2 separate regions of the Homo sapiens genome follow, and region 1 is linked to region 2. The links are contacts of gene promoters, found by promoter capture Hi-C in blood cells and fetal thymus (Javierre and others, 2016). All regions are on one chromosome and are shown on one strand. The core of a region is centred on a gene start or on the middle of the fragment in contact, and the rest is flanking DNA. Distances in the headings are between cores, read along the strand shown.

Region 1 (6,471 bases), core at 110-2,609, 150 kb before region 2:
GACCCTCAGCACTGCCTCCACTGCCCACCGCCCGCCCCGCCACGCCCTGTGCAGTTCTCTATGGACCACCTAGTCCAGCAAAGTATTGGTCATAATAGCAGGCATGATGTGCAAAGAGGATCCTGAAGGCCCCCCAGACCTAAGCCCTTTAGCTGCTGGAGGTCTAGAGAGTTCTGGGGGAAGGGCTGGGGTGGCAGGGAGGGTGCCAGAACCAGGCAGTCCTTGGACCAGCAGAAATTTACCAACTTGTGTCCAAGGGCCTGAATGTGTCAACAGCCAATAAATCTTACTGACCAAGGCCCGTAAACTGAATGTCAGCTTGGCCAACACCCTTGGGACATGATTGGGTCCAAACCTCATTTCACCTCTGATACTGACACCTGAAGGTCTCTGCTCTGGCATGCCCCAGGAGGCAAGAGGGGAAAAAGAGGAGGAAGGGAAGAGTGCATCAGAGCTGGCCAGCTGCACCTTCTCTCCAGCTGAAATACAGGAGGTCAGGAGCAGTGGAAGGTCTCAGGGGAAACACGGAAGCTTGCCATTAATAGAGTCGAGCCCTAGGGAAGATGAGGCTTGATCCCTGCAGGCCTCTTCCCATGCCAGAGCCCTCCAAGCAGGCAGGTATCCCCTACCGAGAACACCATGGAGGAGCGGGGTAAGCTGCTCTGCCCACCCCCACGGTCCTGTCCCCAACCATGAAAGCTTTCTTCTTCAGGCTACCCAGCTCCTCGTGCCCTCTGAATTAGAGGATGCCCTGCTGGCCACCCAATGAGACCCATGCAACTGCTTCTTCCTGCAGACCCTCCCTTCTCCCTCCTGCCCTGAAAACCCAGAGCAGCGCTGTCTCACCTCCCCTCCACTTCCCTTCATGGTTTCCTACACGCTCAGTGCAGCCCCCCTCTCATCCTGCTCTGCACACACTGCCCTTGAGGCCTCACAAGGGCTTCCACCCATGCTGGCAAGAAGGCACCAGGGGGTGAGCCCTATGATGGGCCGCCCTGCACCCGCTCCCAGCTGTTACCCATGCACCAGCACCAGGCACAGCCCACTCCTGGAGGATGCTCTCAGCCCTGCGACTGGCCAGCACCTAGTTGCCAAGGCGACCAGGCCCTTCCCGAATCCTCCTGGTTTAAGGGATTATGGGTCAGTAACATGTTGGCTTTGCTTAATGATCACATCCTTCTGTCCTCAGCCAGCCTGGAAAGGGTCCTCTGTCTGGCAGCGCATGCTCCTGGCTGCCCCCAAACACAGCTCAGTGGTGGCCCTCCAGCTGCCCTGATCCTCATGGCTGGGTATGAACAAGCTCTCCTTCATTCCTTTAGCGGGCTGGCACCTTTCAGAGTGGAGGCCTCGGGTCTGCAGTGCTAGGCAGGCCCATCTCTGTCAGTGGGCCCTGAAGTCTCACTCAGTTCCACTGAACAAATGAACTGGCCGGGCATGGTGGCTCATGCCTGTAATCCCAGCACTTTGGGAGGCTGAGGCAGGTGCATTACTTGAGGTCAGGAGTTTGAGACCAGCCTGGCCAACATGGCGAAACCCTGTCTCTACTAAAAATACAAAAAAATTAGCTGGGCATGGTGGTGTGCACCTGTGATCCCAGTTACTTGGGAGGCTGAAGCAGGAGGATTGCTTGAACCCTGGAGGCGGAGGTTGCAGTGAGTGGAGATTGCGCCATTGCACTCCTGCCTGGGCGACAGAGCAAGACTCTGTCTTAAAAAACAAACAAACCAAAAAACTGAGCACCTACTATGCGCCAGCATTGTGCCAGGCATGAGGGTTTCAGAGGCAAGTAAAGGGTGGTCCCCATTCTCAAGAAACTCAGGGGCTGGTGATGCCTCCTTTGATGAGAAGGTAGCTGAAAGCGCTTCCTCTGGCTTCCTTGGCAGAGCCCACCAGCCTTGGACTTTCCTGACTCCCCATCCCTAAACTCCTTCCTGTCAGTCATCTTCAGCCGCTCCTCCGTGGCTCTGTGCAATGTCTCAGGCCTGCTGTCTGCAGGACTCTTGCAGACAGGAAGCTTCCAGAGGGCAGCCACCATGCCTCACACTTGTGTATAGCATTCAGGCCACAGAGATCTAATCTGGAGGCTTCATGATGGTGGCAGGGGGTGTGGGTCCCAGTGACAAGAGGACCCAGACACACCTACCTGGTGACTCCCATTTCCGAGCAAGATAGGAGAGTGGAGATGGCTCCTTGTAAAGATCAATTATTTTCTTTTTTCCTTTTTTCTTTTTTTTTTTTTTGAGATAGAGTCGTGCTCTATCACCCAAGCTGGAGTGCAGTGGCGTGATCTTGGCTCACTGCAACCTCCACCTTCCGGGCTCAAGCGATTCTCATGCCTCAGCCTCCTGAGTAGCTGGGATTACAGGCCCGCGCCACCACACCCGGCTAATTTTTGTGTTTTCAGTAGAGACAGGATTTCGCCATGTTGGCCAGGCTGGTCTCGAACTCCTGACCTCAAGTGATCTGCCCCTCCTCGGCCTCCCAAAGTGCTGGGATTACAGGCATGAGCCACAGCACTCAGCCAATTATTTTCAAAGATAGCTGAACATCAGAATCACCAGGGAGCATTGTAAAAAAATTCAGATTCCTAGGTCTCACCCTGAGATTCTGGAACTGAGGTTCTGAGAATGGTGCCTGGGAAAATGCATTTGAAAAAACATCTCCAATGATGTACACCTGGAGCGGTGACCAGGAAAACATCTAAGGTCCAGGTCAGGGACAATTATCTGCCCAGGCTTCCAGGCCACCCTCCTGTGCTGAGACGGGGGATCCTCAGAGCAGGGAAGGGAAGCAGGAGGCCCCCCACAGGAGAGGAAGTCTCTCTGTCCTGGAAGCCAGTGCATCTCCACCACACCAACTGATGTCCCCAATGTCCCCGTGCTTTGTCATGGTTGTTCTCTGGGGGTGGGGAGAGGCAGGCACTTGGCTCCCTGAGGTCTGAGCTCTGCCAGGAGGGAGACCAGCCACACCCCTTTCTAAAAACAGGGCTTCCCCATAAAACCGTCCTGCAGTCTGGGATTTATGGGATGGCATGTTGGATTTGCGGCTCAGGAATCTACAAGTAGCAACCATAAATCTCACACCCTTGCTCTTGCTTGTAGGGTGAGGGGAGGGGAGCTCATTAAAAGCCTCCGGGAAGGAGGCCCCCCATTTCTGCAAGACAAAAGAGATTCAGCCCTGAGTCACACCTGCTCTCCCTAAGGTTCAGTGAGGAGCAAGGAGCCACCAGCCTGTGCCTGGGGTGGGGAGGACAGTGGGGCTGGGAGCTGGAGGAAGGGTGAGGCCAGAGGCAGCTGACTGGAGCAGGAATGTGGGGCCAAGCAGTGCAGGCGATGGGGACCAGCTGTTCTCCACCCGCAGGACAGGAGCCTGAGAGGAAGTGGCTGTCACAGCAGCAGAAGGGATGGGGGTCAGATGTAGGATGGATTTCCTGATGGAAGGATGGAGGTCAGATGTAGGATGGACTTCCTGATGGAAGGATGGAGGTCAGATGTAGGGTGGACTTCCTGATGGTGACAGGGGAGCAGGCGGTGGGGGTGGTGACCACAGCAGAGTGGATGTCTCTCTCTGCTGGGGACAACCAGGGCATTGAACCCAGCAGGGTCTTGGGTGTGACAGGGCAGACTGGGCAGTGAATAGTCTGTTGTTCCCTAGGTCAAGACACAAGATGCCTCTGTCATTTTTCCCTTGGGAGAGTCAGCTCCTCAGATTTGGGGGTCGAGGGGGAAGGGAGACAGGAAAAAGGCCTGTCACCTTAGTGCTATCTACCCCTCACCCCCAAGTGGGGACAGAAGGGCTCAGTATGACCAGCCTGAGGCCAGCCCGGGGCCAGGCACAGCACAGCCTTTGTCCCCAGACCAAGGAGCCATCTGGGGCTGTCCCCGTGCAATTGGTGCCAGGGGAAGAGGGCGATGAGTGTCCAGGGATACTGGCCCGGCAGTGGGGGGTGGAGGAAGTTGAAGGAGCAGAGTCCCACTGAGGAGCTGCAGGGTGGGCAGGCAGACCCCAGCCAACCTCCCCTCCCACCTCCCTGCCCAGGTAAGTCATAAAGCTCAGCCAGCTCCAGTTGCTTCTTCCCAGGGACACAGCAGCCGGCCCAGAACCTCCTGCTGGTGCCAGAGCCATGGGTGGCACAGAAGGAGGAAGGAGGAGCCAGGCTGGGAAGAAAGCCAGCACTTGCCAGAGGCCACTGTGCCCCCAGTGAGCAGGGCTGGCCTCCCAGAATGTTAGCAGGGGAAGACGCTCACACAGCCTCCATCCCCATCCCTTGCCCAGTGAAGATGCTGAACATCCAAGAGGGGAAATGGCTTGCCCAGAATCACGCAGCAATTTCCTGGTTGTTGCCAAGTGCACAAACGTGACCATATTGCTCCTTTCTTCTCCTACCTGGAGCCCTCCCCGCCCTTGCCCCTTCCCTGTGGCCCAGGCTTGACTGTTTTCTCCTACTCTGAACTGCGTGCCAAACAAACTCAGTTTCAAACTTTGGTGCTACCACTAGCAGGCTATGGAATCGCAATGACGTGATAAAACCCCTCTCACCCCTGGCTCCATTCATTCATTCAACAATTATTGAACACCTGCTGCATGCCAGGCACTGTTGTAGACCCTGAGAATCCACAGATGAATGAAACAGACATTAATTCCTTTCCTAATACTTTCTAACAGGGGTAGGGGGGTGCGGACAATAGACAGAATGAATACACAGTATGATGGATGGTGACAAGTGCAATGATGGGAATTCATGCAGGGAAGAGGGAAGGTGTGGGAAGTGCAGTTGCAAGTTTAAGTAGGGTGGTCAAGAAGGCCTCCCCAAGAAGCAGGTGACATCTCAGGAGAAATCCAGAGTAGGTGTAAGGTGAGGGGGTCAGTCATGCAGGGTCTGGGAGAAGCAGGTCAACAAGGGAACAGCAGGGGCAAAGGTCCTGAGGCAGAAGTAAGTCTGGTTCACTGCAGGACAATGATGTGGCTGGAGAAGATGCTGGATGGGAGTGCGGAGCAGCTGTGTTGGGCCTCGAGGGGTAAGGAGGGTTTGAACGGATGAGTGACATGATCACACTGAGGCTTTAACACGCTGCTGTGTTGAGAACAGACAAGGGGAGCAAGGGGAGAGCAGGGAGCCCGGGCAGGAGGCTGCTGCTGAGGCCCAGGGGAGAGAGCTTGATGGTGGCTGGGACCAGCGGGGGGCAGTGGAGATGGTGAGAAGTGGCTGGATTTGGGCTATATTTTGAAGGTGGAGGCAAAGAGCTCTGCAGATGGATTGTATGTTGTGGGTGAGAAAAGAGTCAAGCATGACTCTGCAGCAGGGTTTTCGCCAAGCAGCCGGAGTGGAGAGATAGAACAGTCACTGGAGGAGACAAGGCATTCTGGGAGTAGTGGTTTCAGTGGGAAGACCAGGAGTTGGATGTTGGGCAGGTGACATTTTCAACGTACAGTGGTATCTGAGCAAACATGCTGGGTGAGCCAACACAACACACCACTGGCACAGGGAAGATGTCCAGCAAAGCTTGGCTCTCCTCTCTCAAGCTACTGCCCAGACAAAAAGAGTCCTCATATAAACTTCATCAAACATCCCTGCAGACTTCCTTATTGCAAGGTGCTTTTGGATCCCAGGATGGAAGAGGGCCAGGAGACAGGGAGCAGGATCATCTCTTGGCAGATGTGAGGGGGAGAAGGGCCAGGGAGGCAGGGTCCCCCCTACTTAGACAACTGCAGGGCCACGCAGGGTGGGGCCCGTGCAAGGCAGGGAACCCCGGCTACTGGCAGACAAGCCCCATCTTCTCTCTTAGGAGGAAAGAAAGCTCCACAGAGCAGGCCAGGCCAGCCCCAGGGCCCCAGTGTCCAGACAGGGCAGATTCCCAGCCCACTGACTGCTGGGACAACCTGTGCCAGGCCACAGACCTAATACCTGCCTTGGGGCTGGACCCCTGAGAGACCTTGACCTGGAGACCATGGAGGTGGAGAAGGAGGTTGACAGAGCATCCCAGGAATCTGGGATGCTGTAGACTGGAGGGCGGGAAAGTCAGCTTCACTTCTCAAGCTCCTGGGGCCAGGACTGGAGTCTTCTCTCAGCAAACCCCTTCAAGAAGCCTCTTTGCCTTCCTCTTGAACAAAGCCCCGATTCCCCAGCCTGCACCCAAAGGCCCTTCAAGATCTGGGGCCCCTTCGTCTCTGGCTTTGCCCCTCTTCATTGCCCCTGCATGCTGTACAAGTCTCTGGGGCCTTCAGGAGCTTCCTGGAACTCACTCCACCCCACCCCCAGGACCACCAGGTGCCCCTCCTTCAATGGGGCGTGACTTTTCACCTGTCTCCCTCATCTGGAGCACGTTGGTCTCTATGCCTGGTGCTGGTGGCATACAGCAGGCATGTGTCTGCTTTACAGGCACATGTGGAGCACCTGCTGTGTTCCAGGCACATGTTAGATGCATCCCCAAGTCCCTCTTTTTGTTTTGTTTGCTTTTCTTTTCAATCTTG
Region 2 (5,646 bases), core at 2,375-4,874:
CTTGAGGCTGGGAGTTGAAGACCAACCTAAGCAACATAGCAAGACTGTCTCTACGAAAAAAATAAAGAAGAAGAAGAAAAGAAAAATTAGCTACTCAGGAGGCTGAGCCCAGAGGATCACTTGGGCCCAGGATTTCAAGGAGGCTGCAGTGAGCTATTATTGTGCCACTGCACTCCCCCTGGGTGACAGAGCAAGACCCTGTCTCTAAAAAAAAATTTTTTTAATCAGTATAGGATATAGTTCCTGCTCTTAAGGAACACACAGTCTGACAGGAGAGATGGAAAAGTCAACAGATAGTACGGTGTTAAGTGACATCCTTTTGATGATGGCATAGGGTACCCTGGAAGCACAAAAGAGCAACCTTCTCCTATATTGGGAATAGACAGGGGTAGCTTCCTAGAAAAAGTGGTATCACAGCTGAAGCCAGAAGGATGAGTAGGACTCAGTCCAAATAAGGGAAAAGTGGGCGAGGCTAAAGGAAAAGTCTGCCAGGCGAGGGAGCAGTATTTACAAAGACTAGTGTGTGAGAGACTGCATGGCAGGTTTAGGAAGCCACAAGAGAGTGAAGCGGGTGGGGAGAGATGCGGCTGGAAAAGAAGGTGGGATTCAGATCATAGAGGGTCTTGGGACCATAGGAAGGAAAATATGGTCTATGTTAAAGTTTGAACTTTAATGGAAGCCAATGCATAAGAAAAGTAACTCTTCTAAGGACTAACAGTGTCTGCCTCCCTGAATGTCTTCCGTGTCAGTTGCCACAGCCCCCTGAATGAGAGCTGGAGAGACAGGCTTCTAAGGAGGGGCCAAACCAAGGAGCTGTGTGCTGAATCCCTTGAGGGACTTGGGACAGGGGAGAGGCAGGTCAGTTTGCAGTGTATTGGCAGCAACAGATGTGGGCAGCCCAATGTGGGTGCCTTTGATACGGGCAGTGAATGGGGCAATGCTACTGGAGCAAAAGCAGCAGAGAAGGAATAATGAGGTGCTGGCTGGTGGCTGAGATAGCTTTGTGGGGCTCCCAGGGAGAACAGAATTGTGGCTGCAATTGCCCAGTGCAAATAGATAGGACAGGGGAATCGGGGGTGAAGAGGAACAGTTAAAACCTCTCTGCTTAGAAAACTCTAAGAATGCACTTGCCCTGTTTTTTGAGTATTTGTGATGTGACCCAAGTGTTTTATGATTCTTTTTTTTTTTTTTTTTTGAAACAGAGTCTCACTCTGTCACCCAGGCTGGAGTGCAGTGGCACGATCTCAGCTCACTGCAACCTCCGCCTCCCAGGTTCAAGTGATTCTCCTGCCTCAGCCTCCCAAGTAGCTGGGATTACAGGAACGCACCACCGCACCCAGCTGATTTTTGTATTTTTAGTAGAGATATGGTTTCTCCATGTTGCCCTGGCTGGTCTTGAACTCTTGACCTCAGGTGATCCACCTGCCTCGGCCTTCCAAAGTGCTGGGATTACAGGTGTGAGCCACTGCACCCAGTTCATGATCTTCTTTTTAAGGCTCACCTTTCCCTGGTAATTTGGGGAAAATAGGTCCAGGGAGTGGAGGCTGACTGACATCCCAGGATCACTGCCATCAAGCTGACCTCCGCAGAGAGCTGATGCAGGCCAGGCCAATTCTCCCACTGCTGCCCTGTCCCTACATTCTCCACAATACAGTGACACAGGCTGTGTAACAGGCTTTTCTGACATTTTAGATGGAAGGGAAAATGTATATGAAATTGAAATGTGGGGAGGGAAGAACCTTAACACCAAACGCTAAATGAATCATTCCCAGAATCCTAGGAAAATGAAAAGTGCTAACCCCATTAAAAGTGCATTGAAGTGGCTAGCTTTGCTTTCTGCTTCAGGATTCATCGTTTTCCAAGGGCCCCACCTTTAATCCTTCAGAGTGATTCTCCACCCTGAGACCCGCTTACAGGGCACAGTTATACCTCCCTCCCAGTGACTCACAATGATTCAGACGTAGTGCTGGTCTCAGACACAATCCTGCCTGAATCTATATAAAGAAAGAGAAAAATCTCCCTCACTCCACAACAGCATACTATGCCAAGATTTCTCCTGCTTCCAACGTGCAGAGTGTATTTGTTTGTTTTCAAATCTTATGCTTTGTTCTGTTTCTGCAGTTTCTAGAGCACAGCTGGGGACCTGGTACGTAAAAAACCGGCCTTACCTCAGTGCCTTCTCCAACAGCAGAGTCATTGACCCACCCCTATCCCAGCTATACAAGGACCCATGATCTTGAGATTTTCTTGACCTTGGGCCAAATCAAATTCCAAGGCAGGGCTCTAGTCTCAGCAATAGGAAGAGAATTAGTCTAGAGACTGATTTCTTCTTGTCAAGAGCAAACTCCTTGCCAGCGAGGTGTTTTATTTTTTCAATTTCAATGACTCGTCTGCCTCCCCTACAAATCTTGGAGCTCCTTGTGTCGAGGACTGTATCTTAATCATCTCTGGATCTCCTCTCGAAGTGATGTCTGTGCTACCTCCAGAAAGAGCCCATTTCCATTTTGAGCAGTTTCCAACTCAAATAGACATTTGAAACCACAAAACCAATACCCCAGATTTTGCTTCCTGTTTATCCCTGTGATGAGAAGTCCCTAAAATGAGCAAACTGCTGTTGAAAGGCATTCCCAATCAACCTCATTATGCAGTGTTTAGCCTTCTAACACACTGTCATTCCCACGGCATCCAAAGTCCTCATTCCTATAAATGTCACTATTTACAGCAGGGTCAATCCTGCCACCCAGCAAAGGTGTTCTCCATCCCATGGCCAAACAATGAAGTGGAGCCCTGGCTGGAGAAACAGGATTGAGCTAATTGCATGTCACACAGACACACTGGATTTCACAGGCTTGTGTTCTACAGATGGGGCGATGAGGCCAATTCTATTGCATGCATGCTGTTTAAATCTCTACCCAGTCAATATTCAGGGTGGCAGATGGAAGAAATTCTTAAAGGCTCTATTTCTGTTCTTCGACATTCAAAGAAATACTGTGCTACCACCTCTTAAAAATAATTGGTTAAGTACCAAGTTATTTTCATTGCCACAGTCATAAATAAAGAAGTGCTAGACCACAATGTTTATATCTATAGTAGTTGATAATCTTACATGCAAGAAAAATGATTGTTGATGTTTAGGAGGTTGTTTTTCTTGCTTTTTTTCCTCCCTTCCTTTCCTCCCCTACCCCTACCTCCCAGCCAAGAAAAGTCTTGTTGATTAGAGTAACAAGAAGGGGCTGATTTGGAAGTAAAATTAAACTTGACTCTTTCCTGAAGCAAGAACGTAATCTCAAGACTAAAATAAGAAAGTGCCTAACCAACTTGGCATTTTATTCTGAGGAAGATTCCCGATAGAAACTTGGATGGAAGAAAATGAAAGGGAAGCCAATTAGCCTGTGTTAAGCAATGCTAACTTTTAACAAGCTTGCTCAAGAAGAAATGAACCTGTTAAGAGGGTCATCCAGGGCTTCCTTGCCGCCTCGGTGCACAGCTCAATCATGCTTCCTTCTTGTTCATTTTGACAAAGCAGGTGAGTGATGAGCAGGAAAAAATTATGAGGAGGTGTTGGAGCAACTCGCTAATCAGCACTGCTACAAGATCGCCAGCATTTACAGGACCGCATTCACTGAGAAATGATGGCTGCTATGAATGTTCTCGTTTGTGGGCGTCACCTAAACACAACCCTGCCTAATGAATCAATCTCTGGAGAGCCAGAGGGGGCTATTCTAGGTACTGCAGATGTGGATGAGGACAGCTCTCCTCATTTCCTGGCAACAGGAGACTGGTGTGACAACTCTAATTCCTGGAGAGCCATTGGTAAAATCCTCCTTGGGTTCAAGAGTTAGCTAAAAATATGTGGAGGGGAAAGGATGAGTTTGTCCTTTTTTTTTTTTTTTTTTTTTTTTTTTTTTAGTTTATTGCTACTGGGTTTTTTTAAATTTGTCTCTTGAAGGAGAATGGATTATTAATGTTCATTACTGTTCTGATTAGGAGGCAGCCTTTTTCCCTTCCCAGATTAATGTTGGGCAACCCTTCAAATTGGCAGAGAGAAGGGTAACTCCACAACCTGTATGAACAGGGATGGCTTTGCTGCTGTGAAGAACATGTTGCTCTCACTTGCATTACTAGAAAAGAAAGGTGAGATCTGGTCTAAGAAGGGCTGAGGCAGAAATTTAAAAATAAATATGCATTAATTCACTCCGAGAAAAGTAACAGGCAAGGCAAGGGTTAAAAAGAAAAGAAGCAAGTTTTCCTCTGCTTAGCAGCTCACTTCAAGGACAGTTATAAGATAAGGCTGTCCGAAAAGCCAAGGCCAAAGGAATGGGCTCCAGACACCCACTCCTTCCTCCAGAGCAAGGTTGAAAGGAAAAAAAAGAAAGACAAATTCCTTTACTGTTACTCCTTTCCCTGGCTTCTTAAGCATAACTATGTTTTACAAATGTCTGTATTTAGCTAGTTCTTGTTTTTCTTTTGTCTCAGCTACAAGGCCACCAGCTATGCAAGGCCACAAGTTATGCACTATATGGTTAACTGCCTTTGTTTTGCTTTTGTAAGCCCGCTTATAAAAACCCCGCTCTGTCTTTGTTCAATGCTCAGCTTTTTGGATGTGAATCCACTGAGCCGGTGCATATCTTAAAATAAATATCCTCCTGTTCTGCCATATCGGTCTCTCCATTCCTCAGTTTACCTCAACGGGGCAACGTTAGGGAGAGTGTCCTAAGCAGAAGATCCAGGATCCAATTCTACCTCTGCCCTGGCAGGCTCCCGTGGGGCCTCAGCTTCCTCATCTGTAAAATGAGCACTAGAATGATCTGAGCCAGAAACTATGCAATGGGGAAGCTTAAAGACATTACGTTAAGTGAAATAAGCCAGTCAGAAAAGGACAAATACTGTATGATTCCATTTACATGAGCTACCTGGAGTAGTCGGATTCACAGAGATAGAAAGCAGAATGGTGTTGCCGGAGCTGGAGACTGTGGGGAATGGGGAGTTACTGTTTAATGGGTACAGAATATCCATTTTGGAGAATGAAAAAAGTTCTAAGATGGATGGTGGTGATGGCTGCACAGCAGCATGTATGTGCTTAGTGCCACTGAACTGTACCCTTAAAAATGGTTACAATGGTAAATTTTGTTATGTATATTTTACCACTATTTTTTTGAGACGGAGTTTCCCTCTTGTTGCCCAGGCTGGAGTGCAATGGTGTGATCTCGGCTCACCGCAACCTCCGCTTCCCAGGTTCAAGTGATTCTCCTGCCTCAGCCTCCTGAGTAGCTGGGATTACAGGCATGCACCACCATGCCCGGCTAATTTTGTATTTTTAATAGAGATGGGGTTTCTCCATGTTGGCCAGGCTGGTCTCAAACTCCCGACCTCAGGTGATCCGCCTGCCTCAGCCTCCCAAAGTGCTGGGATTATAGGCGTGAGCCACTGTGCCTGGCCTTTCACAATATATATTATAAAATAAACTAAGCAACTATCCACAACATTCACCCAAAGTATCAGGAGTCTCAAATTCAAGCACCCATGGGGGTCAGGCCATTTGTATGAGTGAGCCCACGGTCTTGCCTAGCGTACAGAGGAGGTAGTAGCTCCCAGCCCAGCCAAACCATCCATGCAGGAATGTGATCAGACTTTTCAAGAGGAAGG

The links. The method cuts DNA at HindIII sites, captures the fragments that hold promoters and counts their contacts. A CHiCAGO score of 5 or more calls a contact.
Region 1: a fragment that was not itself captured here is called in contact with the fragment with the promoter of LEMD1-AS1 in region 2 in 2 of 17 cell types (endothelial precursors and naive B cells); the score reaches 5.9 in endothelial precursors.

The regions. Positions count from the first base shown.
Region 1 is chr1:205,516,469-205,522,939 of GRCh38, reverse strand. The region is part of intron 1 of CDK18 (cyclin dependent kinase 18); the gene reads right to left. Among named protein-coding and RNA genes, the nearest start is that of CDK18, 15 kb to the right of the region's middle. RefSeq lists enhancers at 689-1,514, 4,730-5,429. The HindIII fragment of the contact is 1,315 bases long and covers 702-2,016 here.
Region 2 is chr1:205,371,230-205,376,875 of GRCh38, reverse strand. It overlaps LEMD1-AS1 (LEMD1 antisense RNA 1), which reads right to left and starts at 3,624. Exons shown (of 4, transcript NR_038425.1): 1 at 3,442-3,624. RefSeq lists silencers at 361-655, 4,201-4,495. The HindIII fragment of the contact is 1,416 bases long and covers 3,423-4,838 here.